Regions from separate parts of the Homo sapiens genome. Here region 1 is linked to region 2. Evidence: promoter capture Hi-C in human tissues and cell types (Jung and others, 2019). All regions are on one chromosome and are shown on one strand. Each heading gives the region's core, a stretch centred on a gene start or on the middle of the fragment in contact. The rest is flanking DNA. Distances are from core to core; before and after follow the strand shown. Region 1 overlaps MAPKAP1 (MAPK associated protein 1). Region 2 holds the start of RABEPK (Rab9 effector protein with kelch motifs).

Evidence for each region. The method cuts DNA at HindIII sites, captures the fragments that hold promoters and counts their contacts. A contact is called where the count stands out against the background at its distance.
Region 1: a fragment that was not itself captured here is called in contact with the fragment with the promoter of RABEPK in region 2 in 2 of the 25 tissues and cell types used here (dorsolateral prefrontal cortex and hippocampus).

Annotation. Positions count from the first base shown.
Region 1 is chr9:125,695,929-125,701,271 of GRCh38, forward strand. The region is part of intron 1 of MAPKAP1 (MAPK associated protein 1); the gene reads right to left. Among named protein-coding and RNA genes, the nearest start is that of MAPKAP1, 8.6 kb to the right of the region's middle. RefSeq lists an enhancer at 176-915. The HindIII fragment of the contact is 4,904 bases long and covers 1-3,983 here.
Region 2 is chr9:125,197,742-125,202,627 of GRCh38, forward strand. RABEPK (Rab9 effector protein with kelch motifs) reads left to right here and starts at 2,801. Exons shown (of 8, transcript NM_005833.4): 1 at 2,801-3,165. LOC105376271 (a long non-coding RNA gene) reads right to left here and starts at 2,655. Exons shown (of 2, transcript NR_135145.1): 1 at 2,485-2,655; 2 at 1,792-1,914. RefSeq lists a silencer at 2,679-2,728. The HindIII fragment of the contact is 10,811 bases long and covers 1-4,886 here.

The DNA.
Region 1 (5,343 bases), core at 282-2,781, 500 kb after region 2:
TGTTGGTCAGGCTGGTCTTGAACTCCCAACCTCAGGTGATCCACCTGCCTCAGCCTCCCAAAGTGTTGGGATTACTGTGCCCAGCCTGAAACTATTTCAATTATAAAGTATATGATAATTAGAAAAGAGTAAAAGGCAACAATTCATCATATTTTAACACTCATATTTTTACTAACTACTGCTATCAGAAAAACTGAAATCCAAACAAACGTGATCTTCAATCTTCTTCTCACAAAATAAAATAAGTGAGACAGACATTCACATTTGTTAAAATAAATTAAAACAGACCAGGCCTGGCCAGATGCAGTGGTTCATGCTTACAATCCCAACAATTTGGGAGGCCGTGGTAGTGCATGCCTGTAGTCCCAGCTGCTGGGGAGGAAGAGGTGGGAGGATCGCTTGAGTCCAGGAAGTTGAGGCTGCAGTGAGCCGTGATCGTGCCACTGCACTCCAGCCTGGTCAATAGAGCAAGAACCCTGTCTCGAAAAAAAAACAAAAAAAAAACAAAAAACAAACAAACAAAAAAACAAATAAAACAACAACAACAACAAAACAAAAAAATCAGACCTGGTCTGAAAAATTCAAGCAGACAAAACTAGTTAGGCCTTATAAATGACCTTAACCTTGTTTGATTTGCAAACATAGGCAAAACTTGAGATATGTCTTATAAATGCATATATGAAAAAAAAAACAAAAAACCTTAAGCTTATCTAGTCAGAAGCAGCCAACAAACTTATGTAACTGAGGACTTTCCAATGGTAGTGATCAACTGTATAACTAATCAATCAAATCTTTTGTTTTACTTCCACAGTCTTCCTACAAAAGCTTCCCCCGCTTACTTTCCCTCAATGGAGCCCCAGAATCACTTCTGATTTGAAGCTGCCCAATTCATGAATCGCTGTTTGTGCAAATAAACTCTAAAATCTTATGCCTCAGTTTACCTTAACACACATAATTTTCCATACCAAAAAATCACTTCCCAAATACGTAAGCATTCAACTCACTATCTCTATCTACCAAAGGCCAACCTCAACTCCACAGAGATAGGAGTGGACTCCCTCTGAAAGTAAAGACGGAGCTGTCACAGGCCTACTCGTTGTCCCTGTGGCCACTGAAGAGGTGATGGTAGCACCGGGATAATGATACCACCAATACGAATACAACTCTTCTTCCAGAATACTGTCTTAAATAGGACTTTTGGGGGAAAAGAAGGCTTTCCTGGGAATAGTAACATCATTTATGTCAGGACATATGAAACCATGTTCTAAGTGCAAAATAAAAGAGGTGAAAACTAACTTGAAAATACAATCCATTTACAACTTCACAATCACCTGCATTAGTGAAAACTATTGGTTAAAATGATGGTCACTGACTCTACTCATATTTGTTAATATCAATTTTAAACTATGATTTATTTTTAAATAATTTGTTTATCAAAGAACATTTCTAAAACTGAGAAAAATATCAAGTCTTATAATCTCACCACCTATTTCTTTTCTTTGCATACATGTTTGACATAATTGGGACCATACTTTATAGAGTGTCATATCCTTTTTTCACTTATTATATGGTTAGCATATTAGTATGTCACTAAAATTCTTCTGAAACATCTAAGATGACTGTATATTATTTCCATTCTATGAATTTTCCATGATTTCTCTAATTTTTATTGAACATTAAGGTTCTAATTTTTGCTAAATACTGCTGCAGTGAACATCTTTGAACACGAATATCTTTCGACATCTCTGATTTCTTTAATAAAGATTCCTAGAAATGGAATTACAAGCTCAAAAGGCATGCATAACTTTTTTTAAAAGCTTGTTAATAAATACTGCCAAAGTGCTTTCCAGAAAAGTTTTACTCATTTACATTCCCACTATCAATATGAGTAACCATCTTACCATCTTACCACCAATCTTTATTATCAATGAGTATTAGTATTTTCATCAAATCCTTAAGCTTCATATCATAACACTATACCTATAATCAAACACTCTCACAATATAATCAATAATAACTTTCTGTAAACATTAAGTTTAAATGAAGGCAAAGGGCCATAATTAATGACAGTCCCAAGACAGGGCCAGTCCCAATATCCAAATCCAGAGCAGCATGGAAAAGTGACCCCCAACTCCAAAAAAAAAGTAATAGTGCTTTTCAGTACTCTGAGTCAAAACAAAGGTCAAGTCCTAGTTTTGCTACTCACGCATGCGCGTTCTCGCTCTCTCTATACGTATATACAAAAAGTATATATATATACACACACATATGTGTATATATATGTGTGTGTATATATATATTCCATCTCAAAATATATAAATATATAATTTATAAATATATATAATACATAATATATATAAATATATATATATATATATATATATATATATATATATATATATATATATAAAATATATATATTTTTTGAGATGGAGTTTCACTCTTGTCACCCAGGCTGGAGTGCAATGGCGCAATCTTGGCTCATGGCAACCTCCGACTCCCGGGTTCAAGCAATTCTCCTGCCTCAGCCTCCCGAGTAACTGGGACTATAGGCGTGTGTGTGCCACCACGCCTGGCAAATTTTTGTATTTTTAGTAGAGACAGGGTTTCGCCATGTTGGCCAGGCTGGTCTCGAACTCCTGACCTCAGGTGATCCACCTGCCTCAGCCTCCCAGAGTGTTGGGATTACAGGCATGAGCCACCGCACCCGGCCCGGTAGCTCTATATTTTTATTAATAATTACATTACTTCTCTAAGCTTCAGTTTCGGCATTTGTAAAATGGGGACGGGGATAACATAATATCCCTTTTCTAACAAAGAGCAGTTACAGGCACAAAAAAGATAATATAAACACTTGGAAGTGTTTCTTGTTACTCAGCAGATCAATTCACATAATAGCTTAAAAACAGCATCCTAAAGTCCTTCTCTCAATACAGTATGTAGGTGCACTAATTTACAAAACACAACAGAAATTAACAAATTTCATGATCCAGACATGAAAATGAGTCTCACTCTTTTATGACCACTCCATCAAATCATTGCTTATTACATCATATTAACATCCTGAATGTCTTATGCCCTGAATGCCATTAGAGGTTGGCATCCCTTATCTAAAATGCTTGGGACCAGAAGTGTTTCAGACTCTGGATTTTCTTTGAATTTTGGAATATTTTCATATATATCATGCAGTATCCTGGGGATAAGACACAAGTCTAAACACGCAATTCACTTATATTTCATATACACTTTACACACATAGCCTGAAGGTAATTTTATACTAACTTTTTTTTTCTTTTTTGAGGCAGGGTCTCCCTCTGTCATCCAGGCTGGAGTGCAGGAGCACAATCATGGCTCACTGCAGCCTTGACACCCCGGGCTCAAACGATCCTCCTGCCTCGGCCTCCCAAGTAGCTGGGACTACAGGCACACACCACCACACCAAGCTAATTGTTTTGATTTTTAGTAGAGACAAGGTCTTGCTGTGTTGCCCAGGCTAGTCTCTAACTCCTGAACTCAAGCAATCCTCCCACCTTGGCCTCCCAGGATTGCTGGTTATGAGCCACCTCACCCAGCCAGTATTTTTAATAATTTTATGCATGAAATAAAGTTTTAACTGCAACCTGTCACATGAGGTCAGGCATAGAATTTTCCAATTGTGGCATCATGTCAGTTCGAAAAGTTTTGAATTTTGAAGGATTTTTGATTTTGATTTTTTTTTTTTTTTGAGACAGTCTTGCTCTGTTGCCCAGGCTGGAGTACAGTGGTGTGATCATGGCTCACAGCAGCCTCAGCCCCCTGGGCTCAAGCAATCCTCCTACCTCAGCCTGGAACTACAGATGTGCGCCACCATGCCTGGCTAATATTTTTGTAGAGACAGGGTTTCATTATTTTGCCCAGGCTGCTCTTGAACTCCCAAGCTCAAGCAATCCACTCATCTTGGCCTCCCAAAGTGCTGGGATTAAAGGTGTGAGCCAGCAAATCTGGCCCAGATTTTGAATATTTTGAGTAGGGATGCTCAGCCTGGACCTGCATCTCTCCAGAAGCACTACAGTACTTACAAGGTACTTACATATATTGTTTCATTTAGTCCTCACTAAGGACTATGTGAGATTGGCATTACTGTCCCCATTTTGCAGACTGTCCAGCTTACAGACTGACAAAGCCAATAATCAAATCCAAGCGGGTCTGCCCAAAGCCCCATGTCACACTGCTTAAAATTCAAGTCTGCACTTCAGTTCTTCGTTAGTCTCCTTTATGTCAGTAACTAAGGTTCAGATTAAATACTCGCTTTATTTTCAAAAGAAAACCATTCCTTCAAACAATTTTCTACCAATTTCTCTGCTGAAATGGTACTTATTTATAACACAGTACCTTAAAATGAGTCCATAAGGAACTGGAAAATGTTATTTTTTTTGAAGTTTTACACATTCAGTACACTTTGCATCAATAATAAAAGTATATTCATAAAAGTATACTCACGTATAGGATATTAAGAATCTAACACTGCTTATATTTAGGCATAAATGTGACATAATATTCCACTTATTTCACAAGCAATTACTATAACTTAATTCCAATAGTTATTCTAATACCTTCTTGTTCTTTCTAGAGTTTCGGGTTTGTTTTTTAAGTGGTTTCTCCCATTTTTCTCACTTTCAATTACATAAAACTGTATTCTACTTTCAGTCCAAATTTTGTGTTGCCTATATTAAATCCATTTCCCCAATATATCTAGACTGCTGCCAACTAGAGTTAATAAATTTTGAATGACTGCTCAGGATTTATTCCCTTTATTTTTATATTCTGTTATTTCCTTATACAATAGAGTATGAATGAAAACAAGTATCTACAAGACCAGTATTTCTTCAATTTTCACCTTGTGAAAGCTGGGTATTAAAATAAAAATAAATTAAACTCTTGGGCTGGGAACTCCCTGACCATATTTCTCTCACTGTGCTGGGTGTCTCTACGCCCCCTTTCAATCTTGAGTACATATAGTCAATAGGCACTGCATGCACTGGGGGAGCACCTGGCCCATCAAGGGCCTTTCCCAGAGGAAGTAATGAATAAAGAACAGATGAAGAGCTGAGTAGTGGTTCCTGACCTGCCAGCAAGAGAGGAGGGGCAGCATTTTAGATTTGAGTCATCTCCACTGGAGTCTGCCAGTAATCAGTTGTGTGACTTTAAGCATATCAATTAGAAACAGAAAGCTTGGCATCCCGAAAAGAAAACCATTCCTTCAATTTTCTACCAATTTCTCTGCTGAAATGGTACTTATTTGTAACACAGTACCTTAAAATGAGTCCGCAGGGAACTGGAAAATGTTATTTTTTTGAAGTTTTA
Region 2 (4,886 bases), core at 1,551-4,050:
CAAATCGAGACTCCGTCTGTAAATAAATAAATAAATAGGTCCCGCAGTGAAAACTGGCTGCTATTTTGCCCACAAACCTCTTCCAATTTTTCTTGTTGATGTGCCACTCCAGCATGGCACCTTGAAACAGAGCTAGCCAGAAAACACCGGGGACATCAGAGCATTCTGCAGCTGTGAGCAGAAATGTACGTGGAGATGCACATGGACATATGGCAGAGCTAACCTGGACTTGGTTTTCTTTCCTGAAGGAGAGCAGAATGACTGAATATCCCTAAACTTCTCTTTGGCAGACAGTCAATGGGGATTTTTCCACTAAAGTGGGAACTCACAAAGACTCCATATGTTTGAAAGAGCCGCAGACCTTGAATTCCATTTTGTCAATAAATTTTGGTTATGGTTTCAAGTAGCTAAAATATTCCTTTCACCAACCTGGCCTTTCACCTGTATTAGCACATCCTCTGAACAGTTCTGTCTGCACAGCAGGTAATACTATCATCATTCTATAGATGAGGAACTAGGGTTCAGAGTGGGTAACTTGCCAAATGTCAGAGTTAGATGGTTAGTGCTGGACCCTGGATTTTTTTTTTTTGACAGAGTCTTGCTCTGTTGCCCCGGCTGGAGTGCAGTGGCACGATCTCGGCTCACTGCAACCTCCACCTCCTGGGTTCAAGTGATTCTTCTGCCTCAGCCTCCTGAGTAGCTGGGATTACAGGCAAACGCCTGGCTGATTTTTTTTTAGACAGAGTCTTGCTCTGTTGCCCAAGCTGGAGTGCAGTGGCATGATCTTGGCTCACCACAACCTCTGCCTCCCGATTCAAGCAATTCTCCTGCCTCAGCCTCCCGAGTAGCTGGGACTATAGGTGCGCATCACCGTGCCTGGCTAATTTTTGTATTTTTAGTAGAGATGGGGTTTCACTATGTTGGCCAGGCTGGTCTTGAACTCCTGACCTCGTGATCTGCCCTCCTTGGCCTCCCATAGTGCTGGGATTACAGGCATGAGCCACCACACCCAGCCTGGAGCTTGGATTTTAACCCAAGTATGTTTGATCTCTTCCCACTAAGCTACCATAGCTCTATACTCCAGGAGCTCCTGTTTCTAACCTGAGCTGTTTTCTCTATTTTCTAGGACACAGCGACAGTTTCAGAGACTGGAGTTCTTTGAAACAGACATAAGAGAGCAAGCCACCTCTCTATTTTCAGGAAAGACACAGAGAACCTATGGTTATGAACTAAAACAAAGATAATGTAGATTCTGAATATGTCTAGAGACATTGTTCATTTATAGTCAGGAATAGCTTTACCCTTGACAGAGAACTCTGTGCCAGCTGCTGGGTGCTGAGCACTTTTATTTACATTATGTCATGTATTCCCCACCACAACTACTACATACATCTCTCTTTTTTTTTTTTTTTTCTTGAGACGGAGTCTGGCTCTGTCACCCAGGCTGGAGTGCAGTGGCACTATCTCGGCTCACTGCAACCTCCGCCTCCCAGATTCAAGCAATTTTCCTGCCTCAGCCTCCTGAGTAGCAGGGATTACAGGCGCCCACCACCACGCCTAGCTAATTTTTGTGTTTTTAGTTGGGGGGGGGGGCGGGGGCGTTCACCATGTAGGCCAGGCTGGTCTCGAACTCCTGACCTCGTGATCCGCCCGCCTCGGCCTCCCAAAGTGCTGGACTTATAGGCGTGAGCCACCGCGCCCAGCCTATGATAGAAATCTTATTAGCTCCATGGTTACAAACAGACAACCCTGAGGCCTGGAGGAAAGTAACTTCAGAACAGATACTCTCCTGGCTGAACTTTATATTTATTGCACTCTTGGCAGTCGTCCCTAGTTGTCTTTTTCTTTGATCTCTCTCTAGTTAAGACTTGCTCCTGGAGGCAAAGCGTGGTGGTGTCTGGCTCAGCATAGCACCTGCCATAATTACAAATGGCAATTATGGAATGAATCAGCTGTTTAAAGCACCAAATCTTGAGCTGGCCCGAAGACTGCGCAGGAGGATTGCATGCTCAACTCTCCCCTTTAGAAACTGTTAACAATCGTTGTGGCCGGGCGCGGTGGCTCACGCCTGTAATCCCAGCACTTTGGGAGGCCGAGGCGGGTGGATCATGAGGTCAGGAGATCGAGACCATCCTGGCTAACAAGGTGAAACCCCGTCTCTACTAAAAATACAAAAAAAATTAGCCGGGCGCGGTGGCGGGCGCCTGTAGTCCCAGCTACTCGGGAGGCTGAGGCAGGAGAATGGCGTGAACCCGGGAAGCGGAGCTTGCAGTGAGCCGAGATTGCGCCACTGCAGTCCGCAGTCCCGCCTGGGCGACAGAGCGAGACTCCGTCTCAAAAAAAAAAAAAAAAAACAATCGTTGTAACTGGAAATGTAACTGTTATACCCTCCCCCCCTTTTATTTATTTATTTTTTTGAGAGGGAGTTTTTGCGCTGTTGCCCAAGCTGGAGTGTGGTGGCGCCCAGCCCTGTTAGCCCCTTACAGAGTAGATCAGCTGCCGCAGGCATCTGAGTTCCCCAAACGGACGCCCGAACCCGGCATTGCGCAAATCGTTTCCAAGTAGCCCCGGCTTATTTATCCCGTCCGGGAGGGAGGGACCCAGGGAAGGCCCACCCCACTTGGTTCCCGAGAAATGCAGAGCCTGGCGTCCACTCCCGGTCTGGGGGACCCCTCCACCGCCAGCCCAGGAAGTCAGCGCCGGGCCCTCGGGGCGGAGCAGGGAAGAGGGAGCGGTTGGCCCGGACGCTCTTCCGGGTCCTGGGAGGAGGGCCCGGACCTAAGCCCCGCCCCTCCGGGGTGGAGTCACGGCTCGCGACTGGCCTAAGTCGCCGCAGGTATTGCAGTCCGGGGCTGGAGGGTAGGGGCGAGGGTCCCCGGATACCGGGTCTATCACGGTCTCGGGCAGGGAGTCTGAATCTTTTAGGGGAGTGGGCCCAAGCCGGGTGCAAAGAACGGGGAAGGGCCTTCCCTGGCTCCGTCCCGGCCACTTTGACCGAATCAGCCTGTTCTTTCCCGACCCCGTCTCCTATCCCCTAGAACTGCCACGTGGGGATGAGATTTGCTGGGCTGGTAGCGGCGGCTGCTGCGGGAGGTCCCGCCCACGTGAAGCCAGCCTAACTGAGCTCTGGACTTTGGGGACAGCTGTCAGTGGCCTAGGCCGCAGGTGAGATTTATCCATTCATCTCTCAATCTATTTTCTTTCTTCATTCACTAGCCACTCCCCCACTTCTACTCCATGCCAGGTCCATTGGTAGGTTCTCGGAATGGATCTGACAGGCCCAGCCCTCTAGGAACTTAGTCTAGTGGAATTTAATCTAGAATCTAGTCTAGAAGCCTTAAATAGATAAACATTCCAAATGATTCCTGCAATGGTGATGGCTAATACCTTCAGAGCCCAGTGGGTGGAAGAAGGAAGTAACTTGGATGTGGGTGGAAGAGAAAAGGGCAAATCAGGGAAGGTTTCACCAGGGAAGGGACTTTTGAACTGGGCTTTGAAGGTTAACTAGGAGTTTGCAAATTTCCCAGAAGGGAAGCGACATTCCAAATAGGGGAAGCAGAACAGGCTGCAAAATTATGAAAAGGCCTGCCATATTACAAGAACAGCAAAAAAACCAATAATGCAAGAGATTGTGGAGGTGAGTTCACGGGAAAAAAGCTCAACAGCAGAAGGCCTTACTTTCTATGCTATGTTGAGGCCAAGATTTATCCCAGAGCTCAGTATTTCTCAGCTTCTTTAAATATTTTGTCCTTTGAGCGGAGAGCAGTGGCTCACACCTGTAATCCCAGCTTTTTAGGAGGCTGAGGTGGAAGAATTGCCTGAGGCTAGGAGTTCGAGACCAGCCTGGACAACAAAGCGAAACCTCCATTTCTATTTTTTTTTCTTTTTTTGAGGAGGAGTCTTGCTCTGTCGCCAGGCTGGAGTGCAAGTGGCGCAATTTCGGCTCACTGCAACCTCCGCCTCTTGGGTTCAAGCAATTCTCACGCCTCAGCCTCCTGAGTAGCTGGGACTACAGGCGTGGGCCACAACGCCCAGCTAATTTTTTTTGTATTTTTAGTAAAGACAGGGTTTCACCATGTTGGCCAGGATGGTATCGATCTGACCTCATGATCCGCCTGCCTCGGCCTCCCAAAGTGCTGGGATTACAGGCGTGAGCCACTGCTCCCAGCCCCGTTTCTATTTTTAATTAAAAAATAAATAAATGGCCGGGCTCAGTGGCTCACGCCTGTAATCCCAGCACTTTGGGAGGCCGAGGCGAGCCAAGTTCAAGACCAGCCTGGCGAACATAGTGAAACCCCATCCCTACGAAAAATACAAAAAAAATTAGCCAGGTGTGGTGGCACTTGCCTGTAGTCCCAGCTTACTCTGGAGGCTGAGGCAGGAGAATAGCTTGAACCCGGGAGGCAGAGGTTGCAGTGAGCTGAGATCCTGCCACTGCACTCCAGCCTGGGTGACAGAGTGAGACTCCATCTCAGAAAAAATAAAAATAAAAAATAAAGCCAGGCACGGTGGCTCATGCCTGTAATCCCAGCACTTTGGGAGGCTGAGGCGGGCAAATCACCTGAGGTCAGGAGTTAGTGACCAGCCTGGCCAGTGTGGTAAAACCCCGTCTCTACTAGAAAAGCTAGAAAAATGAGCTGGGCGTGGGTGGGCACCTGTAATCTCAGCTACTCAGGAGGCTGAGAAAGGAGAATCATTTAAACCTGGGAGGGGAAGGTTGCAGTGAGTGGAGATTGCACCACTGCACTCCAACCTGTGCAACAGAGTGAGACTCTATCTAAAAATAATAATAAAGATAAATACATAGGCCAGGCACGGTGGCTCACACCTGTAATCCCAGCACTTTGGGAGGCTGAGGCGGGTGGATCAGCTGAGGTCAGGAGTTC